Regions from separate parts of the Homo sapiens genome. Here regions 1, 2, 3 and 5 are each linked to region 4. The links are contacts of gene promoters, found by promoter capture Hi-C in human tissues and cell types (Jung and others, 2019). All regions are on one chromosome and are shown on one strand. Each heading gives the region's core, a stretch centred on a gene start or on the middle of the fragment in contact. The rest is flanking DNA. Distances are from core to core; before and after follow the strand shown. Region 1 holds the start of AK8 (adenylate kinase 8). Region 2 overlaps TSC1 (TSC complex subunit 1). Region 3 overlaps RAPGEF1 (Rap guanine nucleotide exchange factor 1). Region 4 holds the start of SETX (senataxin). Region 5 overlaps RAPGEF1 (Rap guanine nucleotide exchange factor 1).

Region 1 (4,757 bases), core at 2,256-4,755, 520 kb after region 4:
GCGACATCAGCTAGGGCAGGCGAAAGCATTAATAATTGATTCCATGGGTCATTCTGGGGTTTTCATTTTAATAACTTGGCAAGAGAATTTTTATAAGTTGTGCTCCAAAAGAAATCAAGGCATTTTTCAATGAACCACCACCTCAAGTTGATGAAACCCCTCCCTTCTGACCTCCCTTCAGACACAGGTAGGACAGAATGGTGCTCAGCTATTCTCGGGATGGGGCAGGGTTCCTGGAGAGGAAGAGGAGGAGGAGGCAGAGGAGTCAGGGAAGAAGGGGAAGGAGGAGGAGGGGAAGGGAAGACGAGGAGGGGAAGAGCCCCAGCCAGTGCTCACCATTGTCGTTGTCTCTATGCAAGTGCTGGATCATGAAGGGGATGGGATCTTCGGGCTGGTGGATCAGGAGTTGCTCCAGCATGTTCTGTGGGTGCAGGGCAGACACCCAGGTGGTTAATACCTGCAAGGGCACCTGGTCACCACAGATACCAGCTATGGGGCCTGCTCTCTCCACTGCACCCCACCAAACATGCCTTCAACCTGGGACCCAGCCACCGCCCCAGCTGGCATCTGCTTGGGTCCCCATGAGCAGAGGCATGAGGGGGGCCACGTGGTGCTGCTGCGGAGGCACCTATGGGGAGGCAGAAGTGGAGGAGTCTCGCCCCTGATTCAGAGCAGGCAGTCCAGGGCTCTCTCCCCTGGGGCCCTTTGAGCTTCCCAGACCAGCCTTCTCCAAGTTCTCAAGCATCACCATTCCCCTCAGAGCCTTAGCAGATGCTGTTCCCTCAGCTTGGAAGCTTCTGCCTTGTCCTCATCCTGGCTAACTTCTGCTCAGTCTCAGATCTCAATGGGAACATACCTTCCTGAGTATGTGCACTACGTAAATATGTCAGATGCTCCTGCACCTGCCTGCGGGCATCGCCCTGTTCCACGCCTCACCCTGTCCCTACTCACCAGGCCACCATCCCCCCGGCAGGCCATGGGTTCTGTGGGCCTCCTTGTCTGCCTAGAGCCCTTGGCACCCCAATACCTGGCAGTCATAGCAGATGCCCAGCGCAGATGTTTGCTGGGGAACATGACCGTCACCACTAACTGTGTCTCTCCAGAATGGAACAGAATGTTACCAGCCAGATTTCTAAATAGTCCTGGGATATTCTGGCCATTTCATCCAATCAGGCAAGCATATCAAGAGAAAGCAGCTTCTGGGGTTGCAGAACCCTAGGCAGAGAAATGAGGAGGAGCTCATAGCAGCTGTGCTGCTGCAATAAGGGGTATCCTTGAGCCCCAGGGACAAGGAGGGAGGGGCTGTAGCCCTCTTGGAGTGAAGGGAGTGTGGGGCAGGGAAAGAGCACCGAGCCATGAGAAGTCTTGGTTCCAGCCCCACTGTATCTCATCAGCAAGTCCCTTCCCTTCTCTGGGCCTCAGCTTCTCTGCCTGTTCAGTAGCACAGCTGGAGTGAATTCATGTTTGTATGTCACTGGTGCGATGATGGAATGAGATGATTTTAGATGGTTCACACATAAATATTTTACATTTCATGTTTAAATCATTGTGTATTTAACGTGTATTAGAAATATAAGTACATCAAATCAATAATTTCAAGGATATCACTTAGGATGAGGCAAAAGCGGCTATTTAATTTTTTAAAAGGTGAGTTGATTTAAACAAGTGATTAGTTTAAATGGAGGTGCAGTAGCGGTTATGCAAATCTGTACATGTGATACAACTGCACAGAACTGTATGCACAACAAAAACATCAATGCAGGTAAAAATGGAGGAAATCCAAACAAGGCCTACAGTTCAGGTAATCCTATTGTACCAATGCCAGTTTCCTGGTTTTGACAATGTGCTACAGTTATGTTAGATGTTATCACGGGGGCAATGTGGGAGGGGAGACCAGAAATCCATACTATTTTTTAACTTCCTGTGAATCTAACATTATTTTAAAATCAAAAGTATAAAAAATGGAAATGGTCAAAAACATGGAGGGAATCCACAGATGACTAAGGACTGGAAATACTGGACTGAAAGCTTTCTTGTTGGGAGGCCGAGGCAGAAGGACTGTTTGAGCCCAGGAGTTCAAGACCAGTCCGGGCAACATAGCAAGACCTCGTCTGTACTAAAATTAAAAAAAAAACATTAGCCAGGTATGGTGGCCTGCACCTGTAGTCTCGGCTACTCTGGAGGGACTAAGGCAGAAGGATTGCTTGAGCCCAGGAGTTCAAGGCTGCAGTAAGCCATGATTGTATCACTGCACTCCAGCCTGGGCAGCAGTGCAAGACCCTGTTTCAAAATCAATAAAAGCTTTCCTGGGCAATTCCTCCAACAATCAATGTGGAAAACACACCAGGTTCTCTAGAGCAGACAACAGGGCTCCAGATGATCCCCCATCCTGCCCTGACCTGCTGACTTCTAACCCAGCTAGCTATTTGATTTGTGATTGGCCACTCAAGCAGTTTTAGGAATCTCTTGCTCTCCCTCTATCAGTTAACACTTTCCGAGGGAAATGTGTTTGATGGAGGTGCAGACACGGGTTTCTTCGTCTGGGCTCAGCTGTCTAGTGTGCAGGGCAGAACCTCAAATGACCACAGACACCACTATGCCCTCCATGCCATGCCCCTGGGGATGGGGTGTACCCTGGGAAGCAGACAAATGATCTGAAAACTGAGCTCCAGCTTCCCCTTGCCTCTCAGAACCTTTGAGTGGCTGAGAGTTCTTCCCCTCCAGCTCCTGAAAGCCTTGACCTCCACCACGTGCAAAAGGGAAAACTGGGGCCCTGGCGGGGACGGGGCCTCGCCCAAAGTCACACGGTGAGCTGGGGGCCCAGTCAGGCCTGGAGCCAGAATGAGAGCTTCGGAGCTGCCGGGGACGTCTGGCCCTGAGGAGGAGGGACCAAGGTGGGAGATGCTGCTGTCCCAGAGGCGGCCCTCTCTGAGGATGGAGATGCCAGCTTGAACTCGGACAATGCCCACCTCAGAAACCTGGGCCGAGAGGCTCCCCACAAATTCGACAGATGGTAATTGTCAGCGCCGGGAGAGCCCCTGGGAGACCACCTCTTGCAACCTGGCATTTCACAGGTGGGGAAACCGAGAAAAGGAAAGGACTGGTTCCAGACCATAAGGCCCGCTGGCGGCACAGCCAGGACCAAATCCCGGCTCGAGTGGCCCCCTTCCTCCCCCTGGGTCCGCCTGAGGCAAACCCGGGCAGGACCAGGAGCGTCCCCAGCTCGAGGGCCCCCTCGGGGTCACGGCGACACACGAATCGTACATCCCGAGTTGGGCTGCTTCGTGGGCGCGCGACTCGGCCCCAGCTGCGGGTCCCGGCCGCGCACCCGACGTCGCAGTGGAGGCTCCCGAGCCGCCGCCAGCGTCGCGACGGGCAGGGGTGTCCGGTCACCTGCATCAACTCGAAGATGTGGTTCTCCTCCCCGTACTGGGGCATCTCGGGGGGGATACGGTGCGGGGCGATAGTGGCGTCCATGTAGCCGTCTCGGCTCGCCGCTCCCTAGTAACCGCGTCGCTAGGGCCGCCGCGCCGACTGCGTCATCAGCACGCGCCGCGGCCCCGCCCTGCAGGCTCCGCGCCGGGCCCAGATACCCGATCCTCGGTCGCGCGGGTCGCCCCCGCCCCGACCTCCCCGGCTGACGCGCTCTGCGGCTCGGGCAAGTTCTTTCCCCAACCCCGGCCTCGCTTTTCCCATTTGCGCATCTTAGCGGGGGACACCCTCAGGTGGCTTCCAGCTGGGCCTCCTCGTATCTGAGACCCCCGACGAAACCCAGAAGGGGCAAGTCGGCCCTCCGAGGGGACGGGAGGCAGAACCTGCTTCTGGTTCTGTCAGTGCTCCCCGGCCCGGCTCCCTGTGCCTCAGTTTACCCATCTTTAAAACAGACGCGGGAATAAATGTGGGGGAGGGTGTTTGAAGGGGGAGGGGCGTCCATGAGATGGGCCGGAGGTTCGAGGATCGGGTGGAAATCCTCAGCCCAACTCCTAGAGTCGAGCCCCGGTAGACCCCTCCCAGCTCCCCGGCTCTGGCCAAGCCGCCAAGTGACCCGATTGCTATGGCACCGGCGGTAACAATCACGCCCGCGGCCCCGCCCCTTCTCGCCCGACGTCCCCACCCACCCTCGCCTCCCAAGTCCTGGAACGGGCCTCCCCACCCTCCGGGGCACCGACACTCACGGAGTCACTCCAACTTCTCTGGGTGCTCCGTGGAGCGAAGAGCGCTCTAGGACAAGCAAGGGTAAACAGGGATGAGTGTGGGTGGGCCCACTCGGACCCCACCCCGGCCTCTGGGTCAGAAACTGGAAGCTGGGGTGGAGGATGGAAAGATGGAGGGGTCCGGAGGATGGAGGGGCCTGCACAGCTGTCTCGGGGTGGGGGCGAGGGGAAGGTTCGCGCTGGAGACGGAGCTTTTTAAGTCGTATGAATTCCCAGTGGTACGGGGCAGCTTGATATTTTATTAGTCGCAACACTGAATTGGGATCTCTAGCTCTTGTCTGTTGCCGTTAATCGTAGGAGCTGTAAGAGTTTGTTGAACTCTTTGTGCTCTCGGCAAAATTCTGTTGTCTCTGTACCTTATGGAGAGGGAAAATGGCACAGTCAATGCAGACAGCCCCAGCTTCAAGTTCTGGCTCCGCTTCTTACTGTGTGAGCTTGGCAAACTCTCTGCTTGCTCCGTGCCTCACTTTCCTGCCCTGTGAAGAGGGAACTGCTGAAGGATTTCAGGAGCTAATGTATTGGAGAGTAATTGGCATGCAGTAA
Region 2 (4,987 bases), core at 1,048-3,547, 540 kb after region 4:
TGGGGAGGAAGCTCCTCTGCCATCATTAACTCGTTTCATGACCAGAAGCCATGGGCACAGGTGCTCGGCTCTTCCAGGCAGGCTTCCCTTGTAGCTACAGCTACTCTTCCCTCAGGCGAGCAGATAAGGACTGCAGGACGGCATGGAAGAGACAGGAACACGCTCCCCTGGGCACATCGAAGAGTCCCGGACAGGCAAACAAGCCACATGGGACAAGGGTCACAGCAGCAGCCTAGGGGCCAGTCCTCGACCTAAACTTGTTCTTTCACCTACAGACAAAAGCTTAATCAAGTGCAATCAATGCCTTGGGATCTTTGCAGCAATCTGGGGGGCATGTGTCACAGAACTCTGGATGTAAACAGATACACAAACATCTTCAGACTGGATACATTTTTCCAATACTTGTTGCGGGTCGGTTTTAAAGCATGTACCCTGGAGAGTGAAGGTGCAGCAGATAGGTATACTGATTTGAGTCACTCCACACCAGGCAGCTTCCTTCTCCAGGTGGGGCAGAGCCCCCTGGGGGAACAACTCTCCAAGAGTATCCGCAGGAGGTGGGCGGCACCCCATCTCACCAAGGTCCTGGCCGGGTCTTCGCTCTGCCCAAACCCTCCTCCAGCCTGTGCAGGCCTCCTCCCACCTCTTAGTGCTTTCAGCGAGAAAAGGTGAGTCTCATTACGCAGAACTTTTGTTTGCTCTTCGGTTCTTTCCTTCTTCAAGTGGTATGCTCTACTATTTGGTAGAAATTCACATTGGCTTGTCACAGCACACTTCAGTTCTGCTGGCTACATGAAACGCATACCCAGTTTTCTATTCTTAACAGTGAGTCTGAGCCTCTGTGGTCTCAGAGATCCTTTCATCCCCATGACCATTTTATACATCCTCCCCTCAACAACTGCTAGAGTTTTATCTTTCCCAACAAATATACCAGAAACTATGTGTGCTGTTGCAAATGGGGACGGCCCAAGAGTCTGGAGTTTTGTTCCCTGCTGCCCTGCTTTTACCCAGTAATGTGCGGCATGGTGGGTGAATTTTTCTAATTGTCCTGGGTCGTAACAGTTCACCTTCTCAGAACAGTTTGGACTGTTTCCCCAACCATGTCACATAAGCTTTGGCTCACAAAGTAGCTCACCTCTCGCCTCTCCACTCTTCAAGCTTAGTAAGAAGATTCCGCAGCTTAGTCCCAAAGGTCAGGCAGTTTTCTCTCCTGAAAAACTCTGTGGACACACCTAGAGAGGTCACTGTCTGCCCACCTGCCTTAGTAATGCTGGTCCTAAAACTCATCTCCAAGGACATCTTTCACAACTTCTCCATCTAAGAAATGACCTTGACCTTCCTACCTTTGGGTTTGTTTTTTTTCTATTCATGACCACGTGTTTCTTCCAATCCCATAATAACAATTTTTATAGACTGTATAGCAGAGCCTTGTCAACGGCTTTTTGAAAATCCATCAAAGTTCTATCAGATGCAGATCTGTGTGTTTATTCACCTGCAGGGACTCCGGAGCTCATTTGCTCTGCGTCTTCCTATCCCCCTCCCCGCTAAAACTGTAGTGCACCTTTTTAAAGGAATTCCATGCTGCACAGCAGCAGACTTCGGGCTCCTCGGGGCCTGTGCTGACTCTGGTTAGTGTCAGGTGGGGATCCGAGTAGGTTATGCACATTGGCCAAACAGCTGAGACAGGTATGCTCACCCATAGTGATTTCTGGATGGAGGCCATCCAATCCCAATATTTATGAATACCAAGCTGCTTAATTGGTTTCAAGGTAGACTCTGCCCTTAACGCTTATTGTACTAATACCTTTGCCCAGGACTGAATTGCCTCTCGAGAGTAATACTGTCACCTTTCCATCCTTAGAACTACCCACTGCAGCATGATCAAGTGACCTGTTGACTCTTGGCAGGTTTATCATGTCCAAAACCAAACCAAACCTAACTACTGACTCTGGAGTTCTTTGCAACATGAAAGCCTACATTTTTAGGTTGGGCACCTTCAACATGACTCCAGGTCTCATTCTCCCAACCGTAGTTGAATAAAACCCACAGCCTCCTAGAACTCAAAGGCACCTGAGCTTGGAGCCACATTTGTTATAAAGCTGAGTAAAAGGACACCCAGGCCGCATGGATGAGCTGAGGACCCTGTGCAGACACGTCCATGGAGCTTCTAGCACAGGCCTCTCTCCATGCTGCCTCCTTTCTTCCCTTTATTTTTATAAGCTGTCCGTTTCTAAAATGTTTTTTCTTTTGCACTTGGGCCTCTTTTCCTTTCCAATTCAGGAAAAGGCTTTAAGTGCCTGGTATCTTGTTCTATGGCACAGATCTCTTGGGCATGAGGAGAAGGAAAGCACTTAAAACCAGTTTCAGGATTCACTGATGGGATTTCCTTCCCTTTCTAAGTTTGTTCACGTTTTCCTTTTCTAAAACGGAACCAGGAAACTAGACTGTATTGGGTTTTAAGCTTTCCTTTGGACAAAGCTGAATTAAATGTGTGGTGTCACTAATACTCCACATCTGACAATTCAGTACCAACTGCCAGCCTGTGCTAGGCTGAGTAGTTGGGACCACGCCCTGCCACAGGCTGGGAATCAGTCACACCCAGAAAGCCTGCCTGAACAGGTTTTCTGCTGGTATAGCTAGGGTGACAGAGTCTCTAACTGTCTAGTCCCCTTTAGTTAGGGATGCTAGAATATTTATTGCCATGCTAAAAAAAAAAAAAAAAAAAAAAGACTTTCATTCTCTCTGCTCGAGGCCTCCGTGGGCACTAAGATTTCGTACCGTGACAGTTTTTTACCTCTTTATGACTGAATCCTTCTATTCTTTTTAATGAAAGATAGAAACAGGAAAGCCAAGTTCACTGGCTCCTTCCTACCAAATCCCCCTGCCTCAGCTGGAACACCAGACCACAGTTCTTAGGCTTCTAGCGTTTCTTTCAGGAGCACTTGTTGAGTTTGGATTCTCTGCCACTGCCAATTTTCTGACTAGTGTCATCTCTCGGGAGCACGTGGGGCAGCCTAGTGGGTATACACAGCCAGCCTTTGCCAGCATTCTCCCGGACTCTGTTTAGACTGCTCTGCCATTACTAACATGGAGAGTGTGATGACATCAGCTCCCTGGAGAGTCAGCCCCTGAAAGTTGGAATTGGTATGAAAAAGCTGCCCCTCTTCTGGTAGCCTAGAACCTGCTACAGTGAGGCAACCCTAATGGCCTGGGAAATGATGGTCACATACACTTTGCAGAAACTCTTTGGACCTTCAGAGCCTTTCTGCTGCAGTGTCACATATAAGCTGACATGAACAAGAGGCGTATGCACACAAAGGGAGGCCAGTAGACAGAAGGGTTTAACAAAAGGCCCAGCAAGCTGAGATGGCCTAAAGGTGCAGTTCCTCATGCTCAAGTGCTTCTCGGGTAACCTCTCCCAGTGACTGCTCCTTCCCTCCTATGGAGAACAGGTTTTACCACCTACACACCAGCCTGTGGTCACAATAGTACCAGCATTCAAGCAAACACCAAATAAATAAGAGGTAGTGGGGGAAGAAGAGACAAGAGCTTTCCCAAAGGGTGTGTGGTCTCCACAGTGCCAGCTCCAGATTTCTGAAACAGGCTTCTGTTTACACAGAACTTTCTAGGAAGCTTATCAGAACTGCCAAAAGAATGCAAGTATGAATAAACCGTTGTTCTTCTAGACCTGCTGCTTTAGATGCTGAACTTCAGAATCAAAAAAGCAGTCGGAAAGTCTCATGTAAACGCTTTCATGTAAAGACAACCAGCTTTGCAGGCTATGTCCTCCTGGAAGGGACAAAACCAGACTTACCTGCAATGCAACAAACTACCTGGTCTAATTGAGAGCCAACCCAGTTATCTGAACTTCGGGAAAGCAGAAAGTGGTGTGTTAGACTCAAAGATTAAATTTGGCCTCATATTGCACAGGTTCAAAGGACGCAACCATTTGGGGGGGAAAGGAAGAAAGTAAAGCTACTGAGGAACACCAACTGGCCCTTGGATTAGAACACACTGCGAGGTAAATGAGAGGGGGTTAGGGCGGGTGGAGGGGAAGGTCAAGAGGCATTTCAATGCCAGATCCAAAAACCGTTCTGCATTCAGTCAGCTGTCCAAAGGACCTCCGTCCCATTTCCACACATGAACTTGCACTCAGACCCTGGAAACAGGAAAGCTTTGAAACGTGCATTCACACCTCCTGTTCTGTGCCAACAATATGCAAGTTAACACTGATTGACCATCATTCCTTAGCTGTGTTCATGATGAGTCTCATTGTAGTCCATGATATGTAGCTGTCCAACACTGTCCGGGGTCGGGGGAGACGGGTGAGGGCCATCTAGGTTCAGGGGAATCTTGGCTTCCACACCCAAGTCTTTGCCCAGTTCTGTCTTTAGGCTCTCAGAAAGGCTACTGGTCATGCCGTCCTCATCACACTGGCTCTCGCTCTTATTACGAAATAACTCTCGAGCCTTCATACCCAGGAAGCTTTTTGAACTGGGAAGTGAGCCCACAGTGGTGGGGATGCTGGCAGACGCTTCTCCCATAGTCGTCTCCCACCGACTGCTGAATGGGCCTGCCCTCTGGTGTGGGGGTTTCTCTGGGGTAGAAAGCTCGCTGCTGCTGCTGCTGCTGCCTCCACCACCTCTGCTTCCACTACTGCCCCGGGCGCTGCTGGGCCTGGGGGTCTTGGTCTCACCGTTGTGGCCAGATGCCTCTTCATTGTGCCCTACCATGGAATCTGAGCACCCGTCATTACAACAGTCAAGCCTGTAAGAAAGCCGGGGAGGAAAAAAGGAGCTGGTGATTGGACTGTCCACATTCGGAGGATGTGGAATTACACTGACACTCACTCACACTGACACTGAACTCCGCTAGCCCACTCTCTGTTTTATAATACTGGACTCAAGAGATCTCATCAAGAGAAACCTAAATCACAACTAGGGATAGTAGGTGGCAATCTTAAGTGTGAACACTTCCTGTGGCCATATGG
Region 3 (4,728 bases), core at 2,121-4,620, 640 kb before region 4:
TGTTTAAAATTTGTTGGTACACAGCAGATACTCAATGAGAATAGCTGTCACTGTTTTTATTATTATTACCTATAAATCTCCAAGCTTTAGATACAATACATTGAAAAAAATTATTTACCCTCACTAGGGATTTTCTCCCCCATATCAGAGTAAGATCCACTGCAATATTCTAGTAAATAATCATTCTCTTAGTATAATTAAAATAAAATTTATCTTACAAACATCTGTACCTCAGGAATAATTTTTTTTTTTAAGAGACAGGGTCTCCCTATATTGCCCAGGTGGCCTCAAACTCCTAGGCTCAAGTGATCCTCCTGCCTCAGCCTCCCGAGTAGCTGGACTCCAGGAGGAATGATATTTTGATTGTGGAACATGACATAAGCCAGAGGGGTAATATTGTGGCCACTGAAGTAGGAAACATTTTAAGGAGTGCCTGTCCCTACACGCAAGACGCTGTTGGCTCCAGACGAACTCTGAGTCAGGATCCTGCAAGGCGGTGCTCACTTCTTGAAGGAGATTTTTTTTTTTTTTTAGATAGAAATGGCTCAGAAGGGAAGGGCTCGTGGATCCCTGTAATGTGCACACTCACCCACCCAGAACCAAAGAAACAGAGGCTGGGCTCTCAGGCGGGTACCCGGTAGCTCACACAAAGCTTTGTGTATGGAATTTGTCTGCTGGGAGGAAAGTCTGATGTTGGTCACTTCCCTCCTGGAGAAAAATACAACAATACGAGGAAGCGCCAAGCACTGTGGGAATGTTCCAAGTGTGAGTTCCAGCTCAGCCCAGAATATAAACAAAAGCGATGACCAGCCTGGAGGTCAGGCCTAGCAAAGCACTGAGGCAGAAAGTCTGGGAGGCACTCTTCTGTCTTCTGGGGTCCTCTAGACTCTGCCTTTTTTTTTTTTTTTTTTTTTTGAGACAGTCTCCCTCTGTTGTCCAGGTTGGAGTGCAGTGGTGCAATCACAGCTCACTGCAGCCTCCAACTGCTGGGCTCAAGCAATCCTCCTGTCTCAGCCTCCTGACTAGCTGGGACTATACGCACTTGCCACCATGCCTGGTTAATTAGTAAAATTATTTTTTGTAGAGATAGCATCTTGCTTGGTTGCCAGGCTGGTCTCAAACTCATGGCCTCAGGTGATCCTCGAGCCTCAGCCTCCCAAAGTGCTGGAATTATAGGCATGAGCCACCGAGTCTGGCCGAGACTGCTTTGAAGTAACTTTCCTGTCCAGGCCTGGAGGAAATCATCGAAGGCAAAGGCCACCACGTGTCGAATGTCATAGGAAATACAAGCTCAGGGACTCTCTTATGACACATCTGCAAACTTATAGATCAGTCTCAGAATGTCATAGCTGGAGGGGCCTCAGAGATTTACTCAACAAATACCAACACGGAGCTTGGGGAGGGTCGGATAACATGCACGAAGAATCACTTAGTTATCCCGGTGATCAGTGCTAAATTCAGGGTGGGGGACGCATGTCTAGCAGGGCGACCTAATCTAAGCTGGAAGTCAGGGAAGGGTGAGACTTGAAGGATGAGCAGAGCTGGACCAGGCAAAGGGGCAGTGTGTATGAAAGACCTGTGTAGCTGGAGGTATGTGCCCAGGGGAAGGCCGGGGGTCAGATGGGACAGGGCCTTATAGATCCAGGGCTTTGTCTCATGGGCTTTGGGGGTTCCTAAGGTGCCGGCAAACCACGTGTTCATTCTTCTGGGAAGAGAGGTCTATGGCTTTCACCAAAGTCTTAAGGAGTTTCAAGAGGTTAAGAATGGCCGGGCACGGTGGCTCACGTCTGTACTTAGGATCCCAGCACTTTGGGAGGCCAAGGTGGGCAGATCACAAGGTCAGGAGATAGAGACCATCCTGGCCAAGATGGTGAAACCCCATCTCTACTGAAAATACAAAAATTACCTGAGCATGGTGGTGAGCACCTGTACTCCCAAGCTACTCGGGAGGCTGAGGCAGAAGAATCACTTGAACCCGGGAGGTGGAGGTTGCAGTGAGTGGAGATTGCACCACTGCACTCCAGCCTGGTGACAGAGCGAGACTCCCTCTCAAAAAAAAAAAAAAAAAAAAGAGGTTAAGAACTACTGATCTAGCCCAACTCATTACAATAAAATGGAGAAACTGAGGTCCAGAGAAAAAAGACCTTTCACAGGAGGCTAGAGGCCCCAAGTCACTGACTCCCATTGCAGTGCTCTCCCACAGCTAGCCCGCCGACCCACGTCTGCAGGGGATGTGTCAACAACTACATATGCTGGCTCCCATCCCACTGGCCACTGCTGCTGGATCCCACACGAGGCTGCTTCTATCCAGGCAGGCCTAGAAGGACAATCTACGGAAATGAACTGCAAAGTCACCAGCCCATCTTTCTTGTGCAACCTAATCTGCAAAACACAGGGGCTCAGAACCTGTCCCTTGCTTCAGATTTCAAGGACCCCCCCAATGATACAGTTTCTGGCTTTTCAAGAAGCTTCATGGATGAGGCTGGTTCACTGAAGGGCAATCAGGGCTCAGCATCCAGCCTTCTGAAGAAGCTGTTTACTTGTTGTTCTTTACAAAGTCAGGACTTGGCCAGGAACTAAACGTAGCCCTCAGTATGGGAAAGGGAGAAATTTGGAAGACTTGGTGGAAAGTCTAAATATGTAAGGAGAATGCTTCTTAAACCCCTGATGTGGCCAGGCACTATGGCTCATGCCTGTAATCCCAGCACTTTGGGAGGCAGAGGTAGGTTGATTACTTGAGCCCAGGCGTTTGAGACCTGCCTGGGCAACATGGCAAAACCCTGTCTCTACAAAAAAAGGAAAAACATAATTAGCTAAGCATTGTGTTATGTGTGTCTGTAGTCACAGCTACTCGGGGGGCTGAGGTGAGAGAATGGCTTGAGCCTGCGAGGCAGAGGTTGCAGTGAGCCAAGATCGCGCCATTGCACTCCAGCCCGGGTGACAGAGGCAGACCCTGTCTCAAAAAAATAAAATAATAAAAACCCCTCGATGCTTCCTGTAATACTAAAGGTAGAAGTCCTAAGTACGTGGATTGGCATTCAAGGCCTTTTGGAGTCTGGCCCCAAATTACCTTTCCCACCTTCATCTCCCACTTCCTCACACGGCGACTGGACACTGTGCATAGCCGTGCACCTGCCTGCCTGCACTGTAGCTCCTGTCCCTCCTCTCCAGCGAGTCAAAGGAAACCTCACAGCCAACATCCAGTGGACTCTCAAAGATCAGTGTTGAGGGTCCCACAGCCTCGGGTCCCACAGCCTCTGCTTCACTTGGACCATGGCAGTATTGGAAGGGGTAATGCCCGCACTGGGGAAGACTCCAGCCCCTCTCCTGGCCAGCCCGCTGACCTCAGCCTCCAGGCTGTGATGCCTCTGCCCTTTACAACTCCCCGCCTCCAGATAAACTTGACAGAGCCACTCACTGCTGATGGCCCTCTGCACTGAGCTGCATGAGGATGAACACGGTCACAGCCTGCACTCTGGCTGTGCTCCTCAAGCTTGTAAAAATGCACCTGTCTCCCTTAAGAGGTGTGGAGTCCATACACAATGGGTACTCACTATCCACTGAACAAAAATTAGTGAGCGTCAGCTATGTGCCAGGCACCATTCTGGGCTCTGGTGAAATAGCAGCCGACAGGGAGCTTACCTCCCAATGAGGGAAAATATCATAAAAAAGAAGCAAATAGGCCAGGCGCGGTGGCTCACACCTGTAATCCTAGCACTCTGGGAGGCCAAGGCAGGCAGATTGCCTGAGCTCAGGAGTTCAAGATCAGTCTTGGCAACATGGTCCCTGTCTCTATTAAAAACACAAGATATTAGCGAGGCATGGTGGTGCATGCCTGTAATCCCAGCTACCGGGGAGGCTGAGGCAGGAGAATCGCTTGAACCCAAGAGGTTGCAGTGAGCCAAGACTGCACCACTGCACTCCAGCCTGTGCAACAGAGTGAGACTGTCTCAAAAAAAAAAAAAAAAGGCTACATTTAAAGGGGGAAAAAGAGCGGGGGATGAGGGACAGAAAGTGATGCGCACCCTATCTGTTATTCTGGGCCCAGTGGTTAGGGCTGACCTCTCTGGGTGGCATCTGAACAAAGATGTGAGGCAGCTAGGGATAGGGAGCAAAGGACACAGGAAGAGGAACTCATGTTTGCCCAGTTCTTCCAATCGAGTACTCCCCAGCATGAACTCACCAAAACCCTACCGCAGGATCCATCTTATCAATGAGAAACTGATTTTTAAAAGGAGATGGGTGAGCAACTTTTCCCAAGATCACATGATCAGCAAACGGTGGCACCAGCAGCCTTTAAACCGTGGCTCTTGTCCATGGCTTCTCAGCAGGTGCCCTACAATATCTGGGGAATGAATGTTCCAGTAAGAGAACGGCAAGTGCAAAGGCTCTGAGGGAAAGGAACACCTGGAAGAAGAGCACAAAAGCCAGTGTGGCTGGGACACAGTGACGGGGAGAGGGGTGTCAGGGAGTGAGTTAAGGGCCAGAGTCCAGGGCGCACACAGGCCACGTCGAGGACCTCGGATCGCTTCACATGTGTGGGGAAGCCCCAGGCAATCATAAAGAGGATCCATGTGATCCAGTTCACACTCTGGCTGTGAAATGCAGAATGAATGGCTGTGAGTTGGGAGAAGAAACCAAGAAGCCGGTTAGGAAGGCATGGGGCAGTCCAGGGAGAAACGGCGGTGGCCTGGAGTAAGGGGTCAGCAGAGGAGGTACTAAGAAGGA
Region 4 (4,518 bases), core at 1,487-3,986:
ACAACACACCATTTTTTGGACACCACTTCTACCCAATCACCTTCATAATTACCCCTGCCTTTGTTACTCATATAAATGCTAAAGTTTTCGAAGGCTTGTCCTGAGAATTCTCACCTCTTCATTCAGTACTCTTTCTGGGCGGCCTACTTCAAACCACTGCTTCAACTACTGCCTAGATTGAAGCTGCCCAGACTGAGAATGTATTGTAAAACTTAATGCAGGCAGGGCGCAGTGGCTCACACCTGTAATTCCAGCACTCTGGGAGGCCGAGGCGTGAGGGATCACGAGGTCAAGAGATCAAGACCATCCTGGCCAACATGGTGAAACCCCGTATCTACTAAAAATATAAAAATTAGCTGGGCATGGTGGTATGCACCTGTAGTCGCAGCTACTGGGGAGGTTGAGTGAAATGATGCACTGTTCCACCTACTCAATAACTGACAGCCTAGCCTAGAACTCCAGATATATTCAATATCCAACTGCATACAGTGTATCTCTACTCACATATCTGACAGGCACCTCAAAGTAAACATGACCAGAACCCAACGAAGTCCTTCCCTTAAATCTGTTATTTGTTCTATATTCCCTTGTTGATGACATTACCATACATTCAATTTTCAAACCAGTAACCTAGGAATTATCCTATACGCTCCTTCTCCCTCAGCCGCAATCTCTGAGCTCCAGAGCCTACCCCTTAATTACATCTCTACTTTCTTCTCAGTGCAACCGCCACTGCCTTAGTTCAGTACATTTTCATCATTTGCCTGGATTACTGAAGAAGCCTAAATGATCTATTTCTTCTTTGATCGCCATCAATTCCTCCTCCAAAATGCTGCCAGAGGCCAAAGCCCCAAACTGGACTTCGAAAGCACAAATGACTCCTCCTCCAATGTTGGGATAAAATTCAAATTGCTGAGCTCAACACACACAAGGCCCGCGATGATCCAGCTTCCACATCATCTCTTTCCTCCACACTTACCTCCCTTGACTTGCTCTTCCTAAAACCATTCATGGTGACTGGTATTCCCTGCCTTTATGGAAGCTCTTCCACTGGCCTTGGAAACCCACCCTCCTACCTCTGCCCGGTACTTAACTGTGAATACACATCAGACTTACCTCAGGAACTTAAAAAAAAAAGTAGAAAAGATCCTATGGATAAAATTGTTTCCCTTTTAAAGAACTCCACTAAGATTCGAAGAGAAAGCTGGATTTGAGAACAACCAGTGTGCAAGCTCTTCCTGAGTGTCATCACGTCTGGGGGGGGGGCCTGTCCGACCCGTCCTCTCTTCCAGTCTATCTCTGATGACCTTCTTCTCTGTCCCTTTAGGACTCTGCACATGTTTCCATCATTGCACTTACCTTGGTGCTCTGAACTCCTGCTAAAAAAAAAAATTATTACCTGGACAAATGGCCTACAGAAAAGTGATCGTCTCAGCTGGGCTTAGTTGTGAACAAACACGGATTTGCATTCATATATGCCCAGACTCTGGCCCCAAAAGAACATTTCTGAAATTAAAAAACAAAAAACGAAATTGGTAAGTGGCATTTATACTCTATATCCCATCTGAGCCTGGTATCGATCCTATTACAGACAGATACTGCTGGCTGATGAGGAAGCCCAGATAGGTTAGACAACTTGGCTGTGGACTTCCAGGAAACAGCAGAACTGCAATTCTGACTCCCAGTTCCACAAGGGGCTGTCCCCACTCACGGGGACAGCTAGGCACCGAGCCAAAAATCCCCCAAGTTATTAGCCCGCGCAGGTAACATCAATCCTAGGATCCTCAGCTGTGTCACTTATCAAATACCACACTCGGCCTTCTCCTTGTGGAGCTCTTTTCCCTCAAGGCAGTCACCCCCGTTTCACTTGGGTCGTGCAAATTGCTGGGCACATCCTTAGATCCCCAGAAGTTGGGGAGGACGGACAAAGTCCTGTGGCCAGCAGCAAAAGCTCCAGCCCCTCCAAGTGGGAGAAACAGACTCTCCTCCAAACGAAGGGACCGGCCGGGCGCGGCGGCTCGGAGGATCCCTGGAGCAGCTGAGCTCAGCCTGGGAAACACAGCCAGGCCCTGTCTCTGCAACACATTTTGTTTTTAATTAGCCGGGCGTGGTGACGCGCGCCTATGGTCCCAGTTACTCGGGGGGATGAGGCGGAAGGATCGCTGGAGCCCAGGAAGACGAGGTTGCTGCGAGCCGTGACTGTTCCACTGCACTTCAGCCTGGGTGACAGAGCGAGACCCCGTCTCAAAAAAAAAAAAAAAAGAAAAAAGAAAAAAAAACAAAGGGAGGGACTCCAGGCGAGAGGCAGACGAGCGTGTGGAGGGAACCGACACTTTCCACCCCGAGACCTCCCGCTCAGCCCCAAGGAAACTACGCAGTATCCACACCAAAAACAGCTCACACGAGACCGCAGTGTAGACAACGGAAGGACAGGGGGTCGCAGCGGCCGGGTCCAGCGCGCAGGAAGGCAACAGGCGGCCGCCAGCCGTCGAGGGGTGCTCCCGCCCCCGCACCGAGGGAAGCGGCCGAGCCCGCGCCGACTCTTCCCCCATCCGCCCACCGGGACCTAGGCGCCGCGATGGTTCCCCGAAGCGGCCCTGCAAGCACAAGCCGCGCCTGCGCTCACGCCCGCCCGACCTACGGCCTCCAGCCCGCCGCTACCCTCACCGCTCTCTGGCTGGCGTCGGCCTCTAGCCCACCTCCATACCGGGCCCCGCTCTAGGCCACCAGCGGAAGTGCGGGCCCGCAGCCGCAGCTACCAACCAGCTGTTGCCGCGAGGTAGGCCCCGCCCCCGCGCTGAGTCGGCCGGCCGCAGGCCCCGCCCCGGCCGCTGCTTTCTGGTTTTGGTGCCCCCCAGGGGGCGGGGCATGGGAAGAGCGGCCGCGGTGCACCGCCCACGCCGGGCGCTGGCGTCACGTCCGGGCAGCTGGGGCCCGACCAATCCCGAGTCCCCGTCAGGGTGGACGGGGAGAGTTTGCCGCGGAACCTTGACCTCGGCCCCGCCCGGGGCTTCCTGCGGGTGGGGCGGCTCCGGGATGAGCTCTGCTGCGGGTGGGGTCAGCCCTTACCCGCTGGCCATTTCCGTTCCCTCTTTTTTCTTCTTTTTTCCACGCCTCAGGTGTCTCAGCGGATGTACTACGGTGACGAAGTAATTTTTCTCTTTAGATTTCCTTTAAAGACCTGAAATGTAAATTACATAAACGTGTAATTTCGGAGGAATATGTGTATATCCTTTATATTACAAGAAAGGGAGACCTTAGGTCTTGCGAACAATGCGCGCGATGCGCAACACAGCAGAGTAAATCCCTCGCTGGTGCGGTGGCTCCCGCTTCTAATCCCACCACTTTGGGAGGCCCAGGCGGGAGGCTCGCTTGAGCCCGGAGTTCAGAGACCAGCCTGTGCAACATAGCGAGACACCCGTATGTACAAAAAAAAATTAAAACTCAGCCACCGAGGCCGGGCGCGGTGGCTCACGCCTGTAATCCCAGCACTTTGGGAGGCCGAGGCGGGTGGATCACCTGAGGTCAGGAGTTCGAGACCAGCCTGACCAACATGGTGAAACTCCGTCTCTACTAAAAATAAAAAGATTACCTGGGCGTGGTGGCGGGTGCCTGTAATCCCAGCTACTCAGGAGGCTGAGGCATGAGAATGGCTTGAACCCGGGAGGCAGAGGTTGCAGTGAGCCGAGATCGCACCACTGCACTCCAGCCTGGGCAAAGGAGCGAGACTCTCTCTCCGGAAAAAAAAAAAAAAAAAAAAAAATTAGCACCTGTGGGCCCAGCTTGTTGGGAGGCTGAGGCAGGGGGTGGATATCCATTGAGACCGGGAGATCGAGACTGCAGTGAGCCGTGACTGTGCCACTACACTCCAGGCTGGGGAACAAAGCAAGACCCTGTCTCAGAAAAGTCTATAAATAAATAAAAATGAGTAAAATCCACTGGAAAGCCTATCCCCCCCCTTTTTTGTTTTTGAGATGGAGTCGCGCTCTGTCACCCAAGCTGAAGTGCAGTGGCGCAGTCTCGGCTCACTGCAACCTCCGCCTCCTGGGTTCAAATGATTCTCCTGCATCAGCCTCCCGAGTAGCTGGGAGTACAGGCGTGTGCCACACGCCCGGCTAATGTTCATGTTTTTAGTAGAGATGGGGTTTCACCATGTTGGCCAGGATGGTCTCAAACTCCAACCTCAAGTGATCCGCCCCGCCTCGACCTCCCAAAGTGCTGGGATTACAAGCGTGATCCACCGCACCCGGCCCCTACCCCCTTTTAGTAACGCCTACTACTGACCACGATGATGCAGCGTCACCGTCTTACAGTTAATAGAGGAGACAGGGAAATTAAACAATTAGTAGTGGTGACTCAGGCGATAAAAAAAGAGGCTGAGATGGGCCAGCTTGGGAAAAGTGGGTCAGATACAGCCTTACCGAGGAGAACCCTGGCCCGAGGATGAGGAGCAAGCCCAGGGGAACACTGCGGGAAAGGCCCAAGGCGAAGGAAGATTCTAGCAAGGGGGCGTGGCTT
Region 5 (4,744 bases), core at 1,698-4,197, 710 kb before region 4:
TAAGTTCTGCAATGACCACAAACTTACACTGTGGCCACATCCCTAGGGATGGCAGAGATGTGTCCCGGGCTTCAGGAGTAATAGTGACCTCAACTCTGAGATGGCATCACGGGATAGTTGTGGGGGGAGTGGTCAGGGGAAGGATGAGGGGTGATGGAGTCCTTTTCCTGACTGTTCCTAGGAACCTTGAGTTTCCAGTGCCACCAAACCAAGATGCTTCTAAGGCTTCCATTGTTCTGACACAGCCAAAGACTTCAGAGCCACTCACCTGTGCTGAATTCGAGGATCGTTCTGCACCAGGGGTAAGATGGCCTCCAGCACCTTGCTGGCTGACCCTGGAAGCATCTCCAGTACCTTCTTATCAATTGCCATTTTGTCCACAATGGTCTTAAAGTAGCGCAGGGCACTGACAACTTCCTTCTCTTTCTCCTCCAGCCAGCTCAGGTTCTGAAAGGAGACGTTAGGCATAAGGAGGAGGAGAGAGATTAAAGGGAGCTATTTTGAAAAAATAAAGGAACATTTTCTTTAAACCAGCTTGAGATCGATAGGAATGGAAAGGCTCTTGCTACAGAAACCAAGCCAGATCATTTTTCTAAGGATTGTAATCAGGAGACAGAGGGTAGAGCTGAAGGAAGAAGGGGGCTTGGACCAAGATAGCTCATTCAGAAATTTCTGAATTCCCTTTCCAGACCCTGAGGTCTTGAAAACCACTTATCCTCCTGTCTGTCCTCATCAGCCACACTGACAGACCACCACTAACCCTGTTAACTAGAGTGAGGACTAATTTGCTGATGACTTGGAGAAGCACCAGTCAAGGCCCATGGTACATCTGTATCCTGTAAATCACATCAAGAAGCTCCAGGCTTTTGTTTCAAAGATCTGAAAGACTGTGTAAGACTGGTCCAGGGCATGAGGGGCTGAAACCCATTCCCTCAGGACTCCTCACTAGGTTCCCAGATTGTTCACCCCACTGAAGCCCCCACTCAAGGAAATGATATGCTATTCCTCAAGGGCCTGGAAGCTCCCAGGGCTAGAAGGGGCAGGAAATCTGGGGAGAAAAGGCAGAGAAGCCAGAGCAGATGACCGTGATTCTCAAGATTCAATCACGACTCATGCAGTGGGCGCTAGCAGCATTCATGGTCCCTCTGCTCCTGAGAGAAGCCCACCTGAGAGAAAGGGAAAATACAGAGCCCTGCGCTTTCCAGTGTTTAAGCCACAACCCCAAGCTTTTCTCCCTGACCGTGGGAGGCCTTGGATCCAGTTGGTGGGTCTACACACCCCTTTTGTTCTTCTCTCCAACTTCCCCTCTACTTGCCCTGATGTCAATGATCCAGGTCTCAGCTGGCTGGCAGGAAAAGGAGGCTAAGAGTAATCTACAGAAGTGGAGTCTCTGAACCTGTTCTGGTTTGGGAGGCTGTCCTTTAAAAAAAAAAAAAAAAAGAGTAGTCTACAGAATGGATAAATCCCAAAATGGACAGTGTACTCAAGTAGTCGATTACATGTCTAGTGCAAATTAAGAGGGGTGTGTATGAGGCAAACAGCCACCTGCAGGATCTCAGAGGTCTAGAGGATATAAATAAAAACTGAGGGCAAGAAGATAATTTCTAGAAAAAGGTGATTTAAACAATATACAGACAAACAAATGGTAGAAATTAATAAAAAGTGCTTATGATTCTGAATACTAGCTCTTTTCTTCTAAAATAGTGCCGATTGGCCAGGTGAAGTGGCTCACACCTATAATCCCAGCACTTTGGGAGGCCAAGGTGGGCAGATCACTTCAGCCCAGGAGTCAGGACCAGCCTGGGCAACATAGTGACACACCGTCTCAATTAAAAAAATAAAGTTTAAAAAAAGGTGCAGAATATCATTTTAAATATAAAAATGTTCAATAGTAGAGGCTTTTATTTCATGGGAATGTCAAAAGAAAAATATATAAATGGCTACTTTAGTCAGACAATGCACAAAAGACCCAGTCATTTCTTTCATTGAGTCTTTCCCACAAGGTGTCCTGCAGACTAGAAGACACAATTCTCCCATGGTGGGGGAAGTGCCCTTCCTCATCCCCATCCCTGGGTCCTGCACCCTGGCTTTATTTTTCTCTTTTCACTACCTGACAGATTTGTTTACGGTCTGTTTCCAAGAGGCTGGGCGCTTACTTTTCCACCTCGTGGACAAGAGCTCTCTGCTTCATGTCATCTGCCCGGGGCAGGGAGGAACCTGAGTGTGAAGGAGTCGCAGTGCCGACAGACCTCAGATGTGCCTAAAGCCATGGTCAACCAGGCAAGAAGAGGACTATGACAGTAACACTGCCACCTTAGCACATCAGAAAGTGTTAGAGACCAGCAATGATGAAACTTGCTGAGGAACAGGAAACATTTTAAGAAAATGTGTCATCAGGTCACACAGGGAGAAAGTGGCTAATCTGAAGATGGGAGGCACTCGAAAGTGGCAAGGCACTTCAGAGCAGAGAGTTTTTCTGTCATTGCAGAGAGATCAAATCAGCTGTTTAAGAGTCAGGCTGTCCTGGGCTCCTCCTAAAGGAGCCAACAATGTAGCACAGCCAGGCTGCCTCCGTGAACTCAGATTCTACTCCCAGAATTAATGGCCTCTGGGTGTTGTGCATTCTCCAGCCTTTCAGCTGTCAAGCTGGGGATCCTTGTGAATGCAGCCAGCAGTGAGAGTTCACAGCCACACAGCCACATCCAGCACTGGCTCGGACTGGGGACTCCATGCCTTGGCTTTGCTGAAGCTGCCTCGCTGCATAACCCGAGGGCAGGTGCGTTCACCTGCGCACCCCTCCTGCTGTGGGGGATGGATTGCCATCATTGGTCCACATAAGCCTGGAAACTAAATGAGGCTGTCCGTGTCTGGGGATGGCTTAGAGACAAAGCCAACTGCTGGGCTTTGGGCTTGTCACCCACAAAATGGGGAGAATAACATCTGCCCCGTGTAACTAAAGAGGTGACTGTGGGGGACTGAATGAGAAAGCATATGAAGTGGTTCACAACATTTAACAGGCACTATACCAACACCAGAGACCATATACCTGCCAGTAATAAAGCAGAGAAAGAGGGCCTAGGATGGGAACATCTGAAAGGGAAGAAAGAGGCCAGATCGTAGCTACCACTCATCGGGGACATGGAGGCACCCACTGTGCTATGGATTTTATATAGGCTATTTTGTTTAAAGGTTACAACCACCCTGTGAAGTGGATACTATTATTTCACAGGTGGGGAAACTGAGGCTTAGTGGGACGTGGGGGAGGTTAAGCAACTTGCCTAAGGCCACACAGCTGTAGTGACAGATATGGAATTTGAACTTGGTCTGTCTGAGTTCAGAGCCTGGAGAGATAGAGAGGAGAATAAAGACCAGATCAGAAATGTGCTGAAGTTAAAAAGTTTACTTGAGATCCCCTGGTCAAAAAGATCTCATTTAACAAACGAGTAAACTAAGACCCCGATGGCAGAGATGGACATAAAATCCCCATCGCCTTTCCTGCCCCGTGGGCCATATTCATTTCTGACGCCCAGGCTGTGGCTCCACAGCCATGTGCTGCCACAGGAGATGGCGGGGAAGAGGGTGAGGAAAACTGGCCCTCCTCTCCAGACAGTTCTCTCCCCACAGCCGTGCCGCAGCCGGGACACCCGACTTGCTCTGTCACTCCTTGTCCCATCTGCAGCCTGGGTGCCTCCCCTCTCCACAGCAACATAAGCCTCATTTCCACACTATAGGACAGTGTACCCTGAAAATGTGGGTAAAGCCAGGGAGTGAGGGGGAGGGCAAGTCACAATCAGTATAATAAAAAACTAGAATTGCAGGATTAAAAAAAAAATGGCAATGCAACATTATTCCTATTAGTCCAGAACAGTGAGGCCTAGCAAGAAGACATGTCGAACACAGACATTGGTTACAATGAGAGCACCAAATCACCACCTGCCACCAGGCTGTCCGGCAGCAGCATCTCCCTGGAAGAGCTGAAGGGGAAAGGCTTTCAGGAATCCACCCAAGAGCACTCGGATCCAATCTCTGTCCAAATGCCCTCAGAGATGGGGCATTAACACCTCCCAGGACCCCCTGCTCACTGCTCATTGTAATTATACCTTTGGACACCCAGTATATGGCTAAATTTCCTCTACAACTTCAACACTCTGCAGCTCACTGCTAGACTTGTTAAAAGGTTGCAAAAAAGTTTAGAAGTTCATCACAATGTACTTTGAATTTTTAAATTCACTAAGAAGATGCAAGAGACTGCTAATGTGGAATCAGTCTGGGAAGACAACAGAATATAGTGAGAAAAACAGATTTTGATCAAGAAAATGTGCACCAGGGCCAACACTGTCTGCACAGTGGGAATAATAAAAGCTTCCCCACACAATTATGGTGAGGAGTAAATAAGACAGCATGTCTGAAACCACCCAGGACAGGGCTGGGGCGAGAAGGAGCCCTCGGGAAGTGGCAGCGAATCTGAATCTGTACTTTCATCTCCCTGCACTTCCATTTCCCTCGTATCTGAGCAGGGAAAGCCATGCATATGACCTGAAGTAAAATAAGAATGTACGTAATCACTCCCTAAGTGGTAAGAGAGCTAATGAATAATCAACGAGGGCAGCAGATGACAGACCCACTGCAAGGTTTCTTGGACATAATCCTCTAAGTCCACGTACTCTGGGAAGTTTCTCAATGCTTCTGGTTCTGTCCATGGGCCTCCACGAAGCAAGAGGTTCGCATTTACTTGTCCCACGCA

What was found. Contacts are between HindIII fragments. The study calls those that stand out against the background at their distance.
Region 1: the fragment with the promoter of AK8 here is called in contact with the fragment with the promoter of SETX in region 4 in 1 of the 25 tissues and cell types used here (mesenchymal stem cells).
Region 2: a fragment that was not itself captured here is called in contact with the fragment with the promoter of SETX in region 4 in 1 of the 25 tissues and cell types used here (IMR-90 fibroblasts).
Region 3: a fragment that was not itself captured here is called in contact with the fragment with the promoter of SETX in region 4 in 1 of the 25 tissues and cell types used here (dorsolateral prefrontal cortex).
Region 5: a contact is called between a fragment that was not itself captured here and the fragment with the promoter of SETX in region 4, in 1 of the 25 tissues and cell types used here (dorsolateral prefrontal cortex).

What each region holds. Positions count from the first base shown.
Region 1 is chr9:132,874,779-132,879,535 of GRCh38, forward strand. It overlaps AK8 (adenylate kinase 8), which reads right to left and starts at 3,506. Exons shown (of 13, transcript NM_152572.3): 1 at 3,394-3,506; 2 at 337-421. The coding sequence starts at 3,477. It overlaps SPACA9 (sperm acrosome associated 9), which reads left to right and starts at 4,120. Exons shown (of 4, transcript NM_001316897.2): 1 at 4,120-4,236. The HindIII fragment of the contact is 8,008 bases long and covers 1,412-4,757 here.
Region 2 is chr9:132,891,991-132,896,977 of GRCh38, forward strand. It overlaps TSC1 (TSC complex subunit 1), which reads right to left. Exons shown (of 23, transcript NM_000368.5): 23 at 1-4,764. The coding sequence ends at 4,245. Among named protein-coding and RNA genes, the nearest start is that of SPACA9, 16 kb to the left of the region's middle. The HindIII fragment of the contact is 3,205 bases long and covers 696-3,900 here.
Region 3 is chr9:131,713,813-131,718,540 of GRCh38, forward strand. All of the region lies in intron 1 of RAPGEF1 (Rap guanine nucleotide exchange factor 1), which reads right to left. Among named protein-coding and RNA genes, the nearest start is that of RAPGEF1, 24 kb to the right of the region's middle. The HindIII fragment of the contact is 3,620 bases long and covers 1,561-4,728 here.
Region 4 is chr9:132,352,250-132,356,767 of GRCh38, forward strand. It overlaps SETX (senataxin), which reads right to left and starts at 2,737. Exons shown (of 26, transcript NM_015046.7): 1 at 2,668-2,737; 2 at 1,400-1,506. RefSeq lists enhancers at 2,001-2,502, 2,322-3,521, 2,503-3,002 and silencers at 2,387-2,596, 2,647-3,036. The HindIII fragment of the contact is 18,222 bases long and covers 1-4,518 here.
Region 5 is chr9:131,642,971-131,647,714 of GRCh38, forward strand. RAPGEF1 (Rap guanine nucleotide exchange factor 1) reads right to left here. Exons shown (of 27, transcript NM_001377935.1): 4 at 269-447. Among named protein-coding and RNA genes, the nearest start is that of RAPGEF1, 95 kb to the right of the region's middle. The HindIII fragment of the contact is 5,406 bases long and covers 245-4,744 here.